Regions from separate parts of the Homo sapiens genome. Here region 2 is linked to region 1. Evidence: promoter capture Hi-C in human tissues and cell types (Jung and others, 2019). All regions are on one chromosome and are shown on one strand. The core of a region is centred on a gene start or on the middle of the fragment in contact, and the rest is flanking DNA. Distances in the headings are between cores, read along the strand shown.

Region 1 (5,958 bases), core at 14-2,513:
CTTCACCCCTACACGCGCGCGTGCACACACACGTGCACACACACACGCACACACACATGTTCACACACACACACCCTCTCTCACGCGCGCCGTGTGCAATGCTGAATTCTGGAGAGTAGGCGCGTCCCCCCGCGGGCCAGCGCGTAGGAGCTGGCAAAGAACGTGCGTAGGGGGAAAGGTAGGCTCCCAAGAAGCTCCCAGACGGACGTGGACTGTACAGCCCCTCCCTAGCCTTTCTACTGCGGGCGCTGTTGCCAAGTCCTAGGTGCACGTGGGCAGTGGGCCGCACACGCTCATAGGCACGCGCGCTTTTCTGCGCACTTCCTCAGACTGCTGTAGCGGTGCCCACGGCCAGCCGGAGTCCTCACATGTCCTCAGGTGGTGCACACGCATGAACTGCGGCAGGTGCACAGCCCTGCGTACCTGCAAATACCAGCACGGTCGTGCACGCGTGCCCTGACGCGCGCCTCTCGGGACGGACGCTGCTGGAGCCGGGGGAAGTTGAGGCGAACTCCAAGAGGCCTCGACGTTCCTGGGTAAGCGCCGCGGAGCGCGGAGCCGCAGCGCCCCCTGGTGCCCCTCCTGCACTTCGCCGCTGGGCTCCCTCCCGCTTTCCCTCTCCCTCTCTAGCCTGATCCCTCTCCCGCTCTCCCTCCGGTCGAGTCTCCCTCCTCCCCGGCCCAAGGAGCCCTGATCTCCCTCTGGGACGTACCTGTAGCCCGAGAAGGTCGAGGATGCAGTGGGGCGCGCTGCGCGCACGAGCATCTCGGCCGCCTCAGCAGCCACCGGGTTTAGCGGGTTCCCGCATGCTGCGGCCCCAGCGCGCTCCCCTGGCTGTCCCGCGCTGTCCGCATCGCCCCCACGGGGGGCGGCTATCCCAGCCGGAGGCTCTGCAGCAGGGCTCTAACGGGGCGGAGGAGAGAAGGAGAGGCAGGGTCAGCCCACCAACGAGGGGAGGGAGGGTTGAGGGGAAGGCTGCAGTCTGCAGTGCTCACAAGCCCCCCTATGCGCCCAGGGGGGCTAGACAAGAGGGGGGAAGCTGAAGCCCGATGCCCACGACGCCCCCAGTGCGGATCCTCAGCCCCTGTGGCTGATAGCGGGAGCTCCACTCCAGGGTGCACAGGAGAATGGGAGCCCCAGGTTGGCCACCCACGAGAAGCTAACTGGGCACCTCCACCCGCACCCCCTACCACCTCCCCAGCGCCGGCTGCTGGGAGTTGTGCGACCGGGAGCTGCTGAGCGAGGGAGGTAGGGAGAGAAAGAGGAGGTAACGAGGGTGGGGGGGCGCTGGCTGAGTTTGTGACGAGCCAGCAGTAGGAGAGGGGGAGGGAAGGACGCGGGCTCCCGCGGTCCCGGTTCCCCGAGGGAGGTGGATCTTTCCCACGCAGCGACCCTCTTGTGATCCTGCCGCTTCCTCCCTCTTCAGGCCTCCCACCTCCCCCCTTCCCAAGGGGGCCTCCCAGGCCCGGCGTCCCGCGCTAGCACTCACCGCAGCCTCTCTCCACATAGTTCTCAGCAGTGGCCGCTCCTGGTCATCTCCAGGGCTGATGGCTGCGGCCGCGATTCTCAGCGCTCACCCGGTCCCATGATCCGGCCAAGCCCTAGGAGCTCCCCTCCAAGATCCCTAGCTCCGCTTCCTGCCCCACTCCGGACGGCAACTGCCCGGTCCTCTGAGCGCGCCGGAGCACCCTCTCCGCAACCCAGCTCCGGGCTGGTGTGTTTGAGGGCGAGTGTGTGTGTGAGTGTGGGAGCGCGCTCGCGTGTGGCCGGGGATCCCCGCGGTCCCCGGCCGAGAGAGGCGCGGGCGGGGAAAGGCAGCTCCCTCCGGGCCCTTCGCTGCTGGGCCAGCTCCGCGCCGGGCGTTCGGCTCCCCACTTCCCAGCGGGAGTCCGGTGAGCGCCTGGACACCCTGGTTCACAGCACTGGCAAAGCCGGGTTCCCGGGGCGTCTTTCTGCTGCGGTCGCCTCCGAGGAAGAGGAGAAGGAAGGTAGCGGCGCCCTCCACACCAACTTAGGGACTTGTTCTCAGCCGGCGAGACGCAGTAGCCCCCGCTCAAGCCCAAGAGGCTTCGAGCTCCGGCGGGCGAAAGCGTCTCCTGCCCGCAGCCTCTCTCCTAGGTGGGTCGAGACAGACCCCGCAGTCCCTCGGCGGCGACGCGGAGCGCGGCCACCCGTTCCGAGAGCGCACGGCGGCAAATAAGGCCAGGATAGGTGGCTGGCTGGCGACGGGGGCGCCTGCGGCGGCGCGCGCTGCTGTCCGTGGTGTTGGAACCACGCTCTCCGCCCGCTCCCGGGCGTCTGGTGCGGCTGAAGAATCAATTATTCAGATCTCTGCTACCGCTTCCTCCTCCCCCAGTGCCTCGCGCTGGGTACAGTTATCCCCCTCCACGCACAGGCGCGCCGACACACACACACACACACACACACACACACACACACACACAGAGTCTGCTCCAATGCTTCTCCCTGTGCCTCGCCACCCCCGTACGGGAACCCACTCCTCTGATCTCAGGGAGCCAGAATCCTAAAAGCAAAGACATCTGCATTTCCCACATGCTTCCTTCTAAGTTCTACCAAACAGAAGCCTCCCTGAGGCTGCCACTTCTAAGCTACCAGAAGAGGTGAGCCAGAGAACATGGGACGGCCCGGGTGTGTGAGGGCTTGGTTGACTTGAATTCTAGCGACTGGGCATGAAATACATGGTCAAGGGAGGAGCTCTGCCCCTTTTATATTCACCTGTATCTCCAACGCCTGTCTGCCTTTCAGGCCTTGGAAGGAAAGGGGTCTTAAATTCTAAGAGGTTTTGCAATGACTGTTCCAACCCTGCCTCCTCCACTTAACCTAATGTCACCTGCTGCGGTCTAAATGTGTGTGTTCCCACCCCCAAATTCATAGGATAAAATCCTAACTCCCAAGGTGATGGTATTAGGAGGTGGGGACTTTAGGAGGTGACTTCATGGCTTCATGAGAGTAAAATGGGATTTGTGGTCTTATAAAAGAGATGCCAGAGAGTCAGCTAGGTCCTTCCACCAAGTGAGACTTAATCAAGAAGGCATCGGCCTATGAACAGGAACTAGGCCCTCCCCAAATACTGAGTCTGCTGCTGCTTCATCTTGGACCTCCCAGCCTCAAGAAGTGAGAGAAATAAACTTCTGCTGTTGATGATGTTTTGCTATGGCACCTGGATCAAACTAAAATATCACTTTTGGACATTATATTACTTCCCTTTATTGATCACTAATCTGGAAATGGGGGGCAGTAAAAACATCTACTTCTCAGGATTATTTTGAAAAGAAAAGGAAGTAGCCTTAATAAAGGGGTCAACAAGGTCTGGCACATAGTAGATGCTCAATCAACATCATGCACCTTGAAGTAGCCTGGAAGCAGGGGAACTTCTTCCAAGAATGTGGATGTGGCTGCTGAAATGGAGACAGGAGAGGGGCACAGTGTGTGGAGACAAATGGATTCATTATTGAGCTGGTTGTTCTATGCTGGGTTTCCTGGGTTTTTGTTTTTGTTTTTTTTTTAATCCAAAAGACAGAGAAAGCGTGAGGGAAATGCTGGAAAGTAAATTAAAATGGGGGATTGTATAATATAAGGCAGGGAACAGGAAAATGTTTCCTTTCTTGAGTCTATGGCTGGGCTGAACTGATTAGGCCACTCCTTGGCACCCATGCAAGACTCTGGCTTGGGGTCTAAAGGGGAAGTTAGGCCATTTTATTTAAATGAGTTATAAATTATAGACAATAAAATGCATATCTCTCAAGGGTTTCATTTGTGAAGGTTTTTTGGTGTTTTTTTATTTTTTTGTTTGTTTGTTTTGTTTTGTTTTGTTTTTTTGACAGGGTCTCACTCTTGCCCTGGCTGGAGTGCAGTGGTGTGGTCGTAGCTCACTATTAACTTGAACTCCTAGGCTCAAGTGATCCTTCTGCCTCAGCTTCCCAAGTAGTTAGGACTTGTGGTGGTTAGCACATGCCACCACATCTGGCAAATTTTTTATTTTTTGTAGCCATTGGGTGTTGCTATGTTGTCCATGCTGGTCTCAAACTCTTGTCTTTACGAAATCCTCTGGCCTTGGCCTCCCAAAGGCTGAAATTACAGGTGTGAGCCACTGCACCCAGCCAGTTTGTTACTTTTGAGATTGTGTGTATCCACATAGACCGTCACGTAAAATGAGGTACAGAGTATTTTCATCACCACCAGGAAGTTTTCTTGTGTCCCTTTGTTGTCAATCCCACTCCCCCCATTCAGTGTAAACTACAATTTTGATTTCTAATACCATGTATTAGTTTTGCCCTTTTCTGAACTTCATATAAGTGGAATTTTACACTATGTATTCTTTGGTGACTGGCTTTTTTCACTTACCCTGATGTCTAGAAGATTCCTCTGTGTTGTTGCATGTATCAACAGCTTTTTTATTTTTTATTGTTGAGCAGCTAGCTCTCTATTGCATGGATAAGCCACACTTTGTGTATCCAGTCTCCTGCAATGGATATGTGGGTTTTATCTATGGGACTTTTTAAAATACAGATGTGGCTGGGTGCAGTGGCTCACGCCTGTACTCCCAGAACTTTGGGAGGCTAAGGCAGGAGGATCACTTGAGCCCAGGAGTTTGAAACCAGCCTGGGCAACATGATGAGAGCCCAGGAATTTGAAACCAGCCGGGGCAACATGATGACAACCCAAGTGTTCACACTGCTGCACTCCAGCCTGAGTGACAGAGTGAGACTTTGTCCCAAAAAAAATAAATAAAGAAAATAAAACACAGATGCCTATGCCCACTCTAGATCTACTCCATCAGGATCTCCAGGTGTGGGGCCAAGCACGGACAGTTATTTTAGATCCATAGGGGATTCTGATGATGCCTCTGCACTTGCTATTCTCATAAATTGATGCTGACCCTGAAATTGGATTTGTCTTTCTTGAAAAATACTGGTATTCAGGGTTTTAAGTTATTCATGATCAGACTTATAGAAAGATAAATCAAACTGATACGGCCTCTTTTGAATAGAGAAAGAAGGCAGCCCTTCATTGGAAGGGACACTGTGCCTCTAAACATAGGCACAGGAGGCTGGAGTTGCACTGGGGTGGACATGTCACCAGGGTGGAGCACATCGTGTGTCAGGCACCTGGAACTTCACCATACATGCAGAGACTGTGACAGCGTGTATAAGATCATGACAGCCTTACTCCATCTATGCTGCCAAGCTTAATTCTCAATGCAGCTTAGGATGCTAAGCAGAATTTTGCTGCTCAAAGAGTTTCAGATGATAAGAAAAACTTCTTCATAGCAGCTATATCAACTGTGATGGTTAATACTGAGTATCAACTTGATTGGATTGAAGGATGCAAAGTATTGTTCCTGGGTGTGTCTGTGAGGGCGTTGCCAAAGGAGATTAACATTCGAGTCAGTGGACTGGCAGACCCACCCTCAATCTGGGTAGGCACCGTCTAATCAGCTGCCAGCACAGCCAGAATAAAAGCAGGCAGAATATGGAAAGACTAGACTGGTTCAGTTTTCTGGCCTCCATCTTTCCCCTGGGGCTGAATGCTTCCTGCCCTGGAACATCGGACTCCAAGTTCTTCAGCTTTGGGACTCGGACTGGCTTCCTTGCTTCTCAGCTTGAAGTCTATTGTGAAACCTCACCTTGTGATCATGTGAGTCAATATTCCTTAATAAACTCCCCTTTAGTCTGGGCACGGTGGCTCATGCCTGTAATCCCAGCACTTTGGGAGGCCGAGACGGGTGGATCACCTGAGGTCAGGAGTTCAAGACCAGCCTGACCAACATGGTGAAACCCCAGCTCTATTAAATACAAAAAATTAGCCAGGCATGGTGGTGTACACCTGTAATCCCAGCTACTTGGGAGGCTGTGGCAGGAAAATCACTTGAACCTGGGAGGCGGAGGTTGCAGTGAGCTGAGATTGTTCCACTGCACTCCAGCCTAGGCAACAAGA
Region 2 (6,647 bases), core at 1,972-4,471, 1.1 Mb before region 1:
TAAGGCAATTGGACTTGGTTTTCAGAATATATACTGTTAACAGTACAAAACTACATTATGCCCCGGTGGAGCAAAAACATACCTAAAACCTTAAATGTTGTTTCTGCTTTTCTCCTCTAGGACCTTCTAGTCTGTAAGGGTAGTGTTTGCAAAATGCATGACTTCTAGTGTGCTCATAGTGGGTTCTGACATTGAGACTTGGTTATCTCAGAATTTTTGAGGTGAAATAATTGGTCAGTTGCATAATTTTTTAAAAGAGGTTCACAACTTGTTACATAAGTGTCTTACATCTAAGCCAGGCCACTAGTGATTACTGAGTTTTCCCGATGTTCAAATCTGTGATGAAACCATTAGTCCCTTGCAGATCTGACTGTTGGACTTCTTGTGTCTTCAATCAAAACAACCCAAAACTTGGCCAAGCTCTTCACAGGATATTTTTTTTTTTTTTAAACACCTCACGTGGCCCCTTCCTTTTGGCCCTTGAGTTTTGTATCAAGTTTAGCTTCTCTTTTTTTGCTGTCTGGTTTGCCAGGTGTATGTTTACATGCTTACTTCATCTTTTTTTTTTGAGAGAGAGTCTTACTCTTTCGCCCAGGCTGGAGTGAAGTGGCGCATTCTTGGCTCACTGCCACCTCTGCTTCCCAGGTTCAAGTGATTCTCCTGCCTCAGCCTCCCGAGTAGCTGGGATTACAGGTGCCTACCACCCATGCCTGGCTAATTTTTGTATTTTTAGTAGAGGCGGGGTTTTGCCATCTTGGCCAGGCTGGTCTCGAACTCCTGACTTCAGGTGATCCACCCACCTTGGCCTCCCAAAGTGCTAGGATTACAGGCATGAGCCACCATGCCTGGCCATCTTTCTTTGCACTCTCCAAGCCTGCTTCAGACTTGTTTCTTGTATCCCTTTTACTATGCTTTAGACTTTTTTTCCTCTGTTTCTGCAGGGCTGGGCTTACCTCCATTTGGCTTTTGAAGAATAAAATACCCTCATTCTCTTCAGAAACAGAAACTTCTTCATTTACAAGCTTGATTAAAAGCAATTCTTCTAGGTAGGATAGGTTTAAAAACCTGATTGCTTCTAGGTTAACACATTTTACATTTATCCTTTATGTGGTGTGATAAGTTTAGTTGGTCAATGACTTGATTTCTCTTAATGCCTCCAGCTCTTTCAGAATCATTTAAGTTTTAGGTACAGCACTACAAGGTCATCTTTAGGTTTGTCCACCCCTTTAGGGTTGGCTCATCTAAATCTTTTCCTAAAGAGATGGGAAAAGTGGTGACCCTCTCTACTGTTATTTACATTCAAAATGGAGTTCATGCTTTGTTTATGAAGAAGTGAGAAATCAAAATTATTGATTCATGTTATACCAGTAGTGAGACACTGGAGAAGTTACTTCACTCTTGAGCTGCTTTTTATATTTGTAAAATTAGAATAATCCACCTTCTCAGAGTTGTGATGGAGAAGATATGAATGCACTCTATAGCATATCAGGTTTCCAAATTGATGTTGAATTCTTGTCCTGGTCCTTTTCATTTTAAAGTATTTTTTCTTTCTTTTTAACATCCCAGGTCCTACTTTGATTATTTTTTTAAGAGAAAAGATCTGTGGACAATATCCTTGTTTTTCTTTGTCTTTAGCAATAAAGACTGTCATCTGCTTAAGAGTAGGCCTTATTATAAAGTTCTGGTTGTTGTGCTTCCCTCTTGCCATTTTCTTTAATAGTGCAAATTCAGCTTGGCATCCTCTGTGATGTCTGGATGATTTTTTTTTTTTTTTTCTGGAACATAGCTTTACATTGTTTGACTATTGCCCATCCTTTGAGAGTCTGCTGTAGATGTAGCAGACAAGAAATTAAAGCCGCCGGTTGCAGTGGCTCACGCCTGTAATCCCCAGCACTTTGGGAGGCTGAGGCAGGCGGATCACAAGGTCAGGAGTTGAAGACCAGCCTGACCAATATGGTGAAACCCGGTCTCTACTAAAAATAGAAAAATTAGCCAGGCATGGTGGCGTGCGCCTGTAATCCCAGCTACTCAGGAGGCTGAAGCAGGAGAACCCTGGAGGCGGAGGTTGCAGTGAGCTGAGATCGAGCCATCGCACTACAGCCTGGGCAACAGAGAGACTCCGTCTCAAAAAATAAAATAAAACGAAATAATCAAAGCCGGGAAAAGTAATAGAGAAATGTACACAGTATTGTTGCTTTTACGGAAAGTTCAAGGATAAAGTAACGATGTTGGTTAATGCCATTAAAGACATACTGGTGATGTTCTGCTGGCACAGCAGCTCAATTAAAACTAAATAATAGTCACTTAAATTTTCAAATTTTTTTTCAACTAAATGAAACCACTAAAAGGTAGAGATCATTTTACCAAAACCCAGGTGGAGTATATGCAGAGAATTTAGTCTAGGAGATCTGTTGGGAATGGTTGAGTTACAGGAAGCTGTTGAGAACTGGAAGCAAAATGAGTATACCCAGGGAAATGAATAAAGCTTTTTGTTTTCCACCATGCTATTTGGTTTTAGTGTTGAGCCATCAGTCAGAATTAATTTTTCCTTCTAAAACATTTGCTGCTGCCTTCAGCTTGTTCCTCATTCTTGGTGCTGAATCTGTCAGTAGGAATGTATCTCCACAATGACGTGGTAAATGCAGATGAGCGTGGCCTGAGGCATGTGCAATATTTAGACATCTGTTGAATGATGTGATGCAAGTTATTTTAGGTAATTTCATTAAAGATACCTAATCTCTCTGTTTCTGTTAAATTTTTTTTTTTAACAAGCCAAGCTCCAGGACTGTGATAAGTAAACACTGAATTTAGACCATTAAGATTAAATGTTACATATAACATTTTCATTATGACTGAAATCATTTCAGTTTATATTACTGATGGGCTCAGAGGCCACATCATGGTATTCACTTTGGTTAAATTGTAAAATGGTTTTCTTTAGAAGGGAATACGGGCTCTAATGGTCATGATACATGTTTTCTTTTTCTTTTTTTCTAACAGAAAGCGTGGATACCCATCAACGAAGTTTTGATATTGGAATTCAGATTGGCTATCAGCGACGCAATAAGGATGTGTTGGCTTGGGTTAAAAAACGCAGAAGAACTATTCGTCGAGAAGATTTGATCAGCTTCCTGTGTGGAAAAGTTCCTCCACCACGAAACTCTAGAGCTCCCCCAAGACTGACTGTAGTGTCCCCTAACCGAGCTACTTCAACGGAAACTAGCTCATCTGTAGAGACTGATTTGCAACCCTTCCGGGAAGCCATAGCTCTGCATGGTAAAGCCGTTTAAACATATTTCTTTGGAAAAATGGTTAAGAGGGTGCCTGTGGACCCATTTTTCACGGTTAGGTTTAGGTCCAGATATACTGTTTTTTGTCTTACAGTAAACAGCTTGCTCTAGAAATGTTTAATAGAATGTAAGCTAAGAACTTAATATGGGCGATTTCTGTCAGCTAACCTATCCTAGAAAATGTTTTTAGAAAGTTAGTTTGAGCTTATTGGTGTTAAAATGACATATCTTTCTGCAGTGTTGATTAGAATTTATCGCTTTACACTTATGTGTTGTACGTGTTTTTTTCCTCTTCTGAAGTCAAAGAGGAAGTTCTTGTGTCTTAAGAATTCTGTTATATTTCTAATGGTCCATGACAGGCAAGTAAGGTGGGAAATTGTTGGGTTAGTTCTCATGGGACCTGGGACCTCCCTTGACACCTTTCTTACTTGGTTTGCTGTAGATGGTGGGAGAGGATGGATGTAAGACTTGACCTTCTGCCTGTCGTCCCTCAGGTCCCTTGCACTTTAAGAGGCAGGACCAGCAGAGTGCAGCCAGTGGGCAGGTGGATCTCTATCTCCCCAGGCCAGACCTGTCATAAGAAGGCACTCTTGGCTAAGGGATTTTAGTATTGCTGGAGAAACCCGGGAAATGTAGTCAGTGATAAGTCTGTTGTTGCTTGTTGCTGTCTAATACAGACTTCCAAATAGAGCTGGGAGAGTTAACCTGTGTGACAGCATTGAATACTGCTGTAGGAAAAAAAGCAACAGAATAATAAGACTTGCTTGAAACCATGATGGAAAGATGGATCACGCAGATGGCTAAGCAGGTAGAAGTAATTAGGTCATGAATCCTTTTTTTCTTTTTTTTTTTTTTTTGGAGACGGAGTTTCGCTCTTGTGGCCCAGGCTGGAGTGCATTGGCGCGATATTGGCTCACCGCGACCTCTACCTCTGGGTTCAAGCGATTCTCCTGCCTCAGCCTCCCGAGTAGCTGGGATTACAGGCATGTGCCACCACGCCGGCTAATTTTTTAGAGACAGGGTTTCACCGTGTTGGTCAGGCTGGTCTCGAACTCCCAACCTCAGGTGATCCGCCCACCTTGGCCTCCCAAAGTGTTGGGATTACAGGTGTGAGCCACTGCGCCTGGCCATGAGTCTTGTTGAAAGTTAACATTTTTGGGCCATAGTACAGGTCATCTAAAACAAAGTAACCTGGTAAGGTACTAAGAAATAGTGGCATATAAAGAAACTTTATAGACGTTGAATCATTGAGACTTTATAATACCTGTAGAGATCTTGTTCTCTCTGGCAAACCGTAGTTCTTTCCTGAAACCCCAATGTTGTTTTTTCCCTTGATAGTGTTTAGGACAATTAAAAACAAAAACATGAATTGCAGGAAAGTTCAGGTTGTGTGGATGCAGTACTTTAAGACTGCACACTGTTCCTGACACAGTGGAATAGTTAGGCTGTCAGAACTTTGGAAGCTCAGGCAAAAATGGGATTGATCTGTTTATGCTGAATTAGAGAGTTTCACATCTTTCCCCCTAAAGTTTGGGAAAACAATTAACTAGAGGTGTACATAGTTTGTTAGATTAATTTTAGCGCATGGTAATATTTGATGCAGTTGTCTCTCCTTAAGTATTGTGATTTTCTTCCTTTATTAAGAGGGTTGTGGGTCATTCCATGCTTCTCTTAAGGTATCTTTTTACTCTGTTTTACTGTTATATTTTAGAAGATAGTTTTAAGAAACATAAAAACCATGCTTGTTATCTTAACGTAGTAGTAGTGTACATAATAGTAAAAAGGGCAAGCCAGCCCCCTCTGCCCTCGAAAAACTGTATTCTCCAACTCCCACTACATTTTCTCATATTGAATCTGTTCCACCTGTGATTTATTGTTTTCCTGAACTTTGGGAGTTTTAAGCAATGATACAGTTGAAGGGACTGTTTATAATTTTCACATGTTTAAGTTGTGAGGCTTTAAAACTTAAATATAAGGCTTTGTCTAGGAAGAAAATGATCTTTACCTTCAATAAATTTATAATGTAGCACTAATCCAGTATAGATTGGAGACTGAATGCATTCTTACTCTTAGGGTTCATACCTCTAATTCATGTGGTTAAGACAGTGTTGTGGTGAAGTAATAGGGCCCCTTGAAAGAATCTACAGAAACATAAATTATACTGAGTTGTGCTGTACTGGTTTGTGAGAACATCAGTGTATTAAGGAGAATGGTAGTTTAATTTGAATATTTAAAGAAAGTAATTTGAATGGTTCTAGTACTAGGGCCATTATTAACTAGTAACATAGATTAGTGACTTCAACTGGGTGTCCTTATTATCTGATTTGTCTGAAGTGAAAACTGTTAAGGTGCTCTTTTAAAATGTATTTGGAAACACCATAGTTAGGGTAAATACAATGTCACAATTCACTCTTGCATATTATTTGCTTAGCCAAATTTATGAATTCTAAGTTAGGCCAAATTGAAGGTTTTGGAGTTTTACATTGTGGGTGAGTCTAAATTCATGCGTTTGGCAAGCACAAGGACATGGGAAAAGAATCTGGTATTTTGAGGCAGGCTTGAGTTTATAATGAAAGCAAACTCAGTTCCTCTTCATGTCCTATGTATTTAAGAGAGGACAGTTTTCCCTCAGTTTTTTTCCCCTTCCTTACCCCTACCCCCATCAAATACAGCCCAACCAAATAACTGTGTTCTTAATTTAAAGGAAAATGGCAGACTTGACACCTGCTGAATATTTCGTGTAGACAGAGTATGACAATGAATGAGATCCCCAGTCATTGCCCTTGTAAGCCTGGGAACCCAGTTTAGTGGGAGAGACTAATGTAAACAGCTTTAATCAAAAGTATATCAATTGGCCGGGTGCTGTGGCTCACACCTATAATGCCGGCACTTTGGGAGGCCAAGGTGGGTGGATCACTTGAGGTCAGGAGTTTGAGACCACCCTGGCCAACATGGTGAAACCCTCTCCCTATTTAAAGAAAAAAAAGTAAGGCATATCAATTTATGGTTATCAAATAGGTTTTTTTTTTTTTTTTTGAGACTGAGTGTCGCTCTATAGCCCAGGCTGGAGTGTAGTGCTCACTGCGACTTCCGCCTCCTGGGTTCAAATGATTCTCGTGCCTCAGTCTCCCGAGTAGCTGGGATTGTAGGCGCCTGCCACCACGCCCAGCTAATTTTTGTATTTGTAGTAGAGATGGGGTTTCATCATGTTGGCGAAGCTGGTCTTGAACACCTGACCTCAAGTGATCTGCCTTAGCCTCACTGCTTGCCCCTAAGTGGTGGGATTGCAGGTGTGAGCCACTGTGCTGGCCTCAAATAGTTTTTATCAAAGCTACTTCAATTAGTGGTTAGCAAGGC

Evidence for each region. The method cuts DNA at HindIII sites, captures the fragments that hold promoters and counts their contacts. A contact is called where the count stands out against the background at its distance.
Region 2: a fragment that was not itself captured here is called in contact with the fragment with the promoter of GRIN2A in region 1 in 1 of the 25 tissues and cell types used here (dorsolateral prefrontal cortex).

Annotation. Positions count from the first base shown.
Region 1 is chr16:10,181,165-10,187,122 of GRCh38, forward strand. GRIN2A (glutamate ionotropic receptor NMDA type subunit 2A) reads right to left here and starts at 1,264. Exons shown (of 13, transcript NM_001134407.3): 1 at 713-1,264. RefSeq lists silencers at 352-461, 472-531. The HindIII fragment of the contact is 17,773 bases long and covers 1-5,958 here.
Region 2 is chr16:9,099,984-9,106,630 of GRCh38, forward strand. It overlaps HAPSTR1 (HUWE1 associated protein modifying stress responses), which reads left to right. Exons shown (of 4, transcript NM_014117.3): 3 at 3,001-3,276. Among named protein-coding and RNA genes, the nearest start is that of HAPSTR1, 12 kb to the left of the region's middle. The HindIII fragment of the contact is 7,617 bases long and covers 1-6,647 here.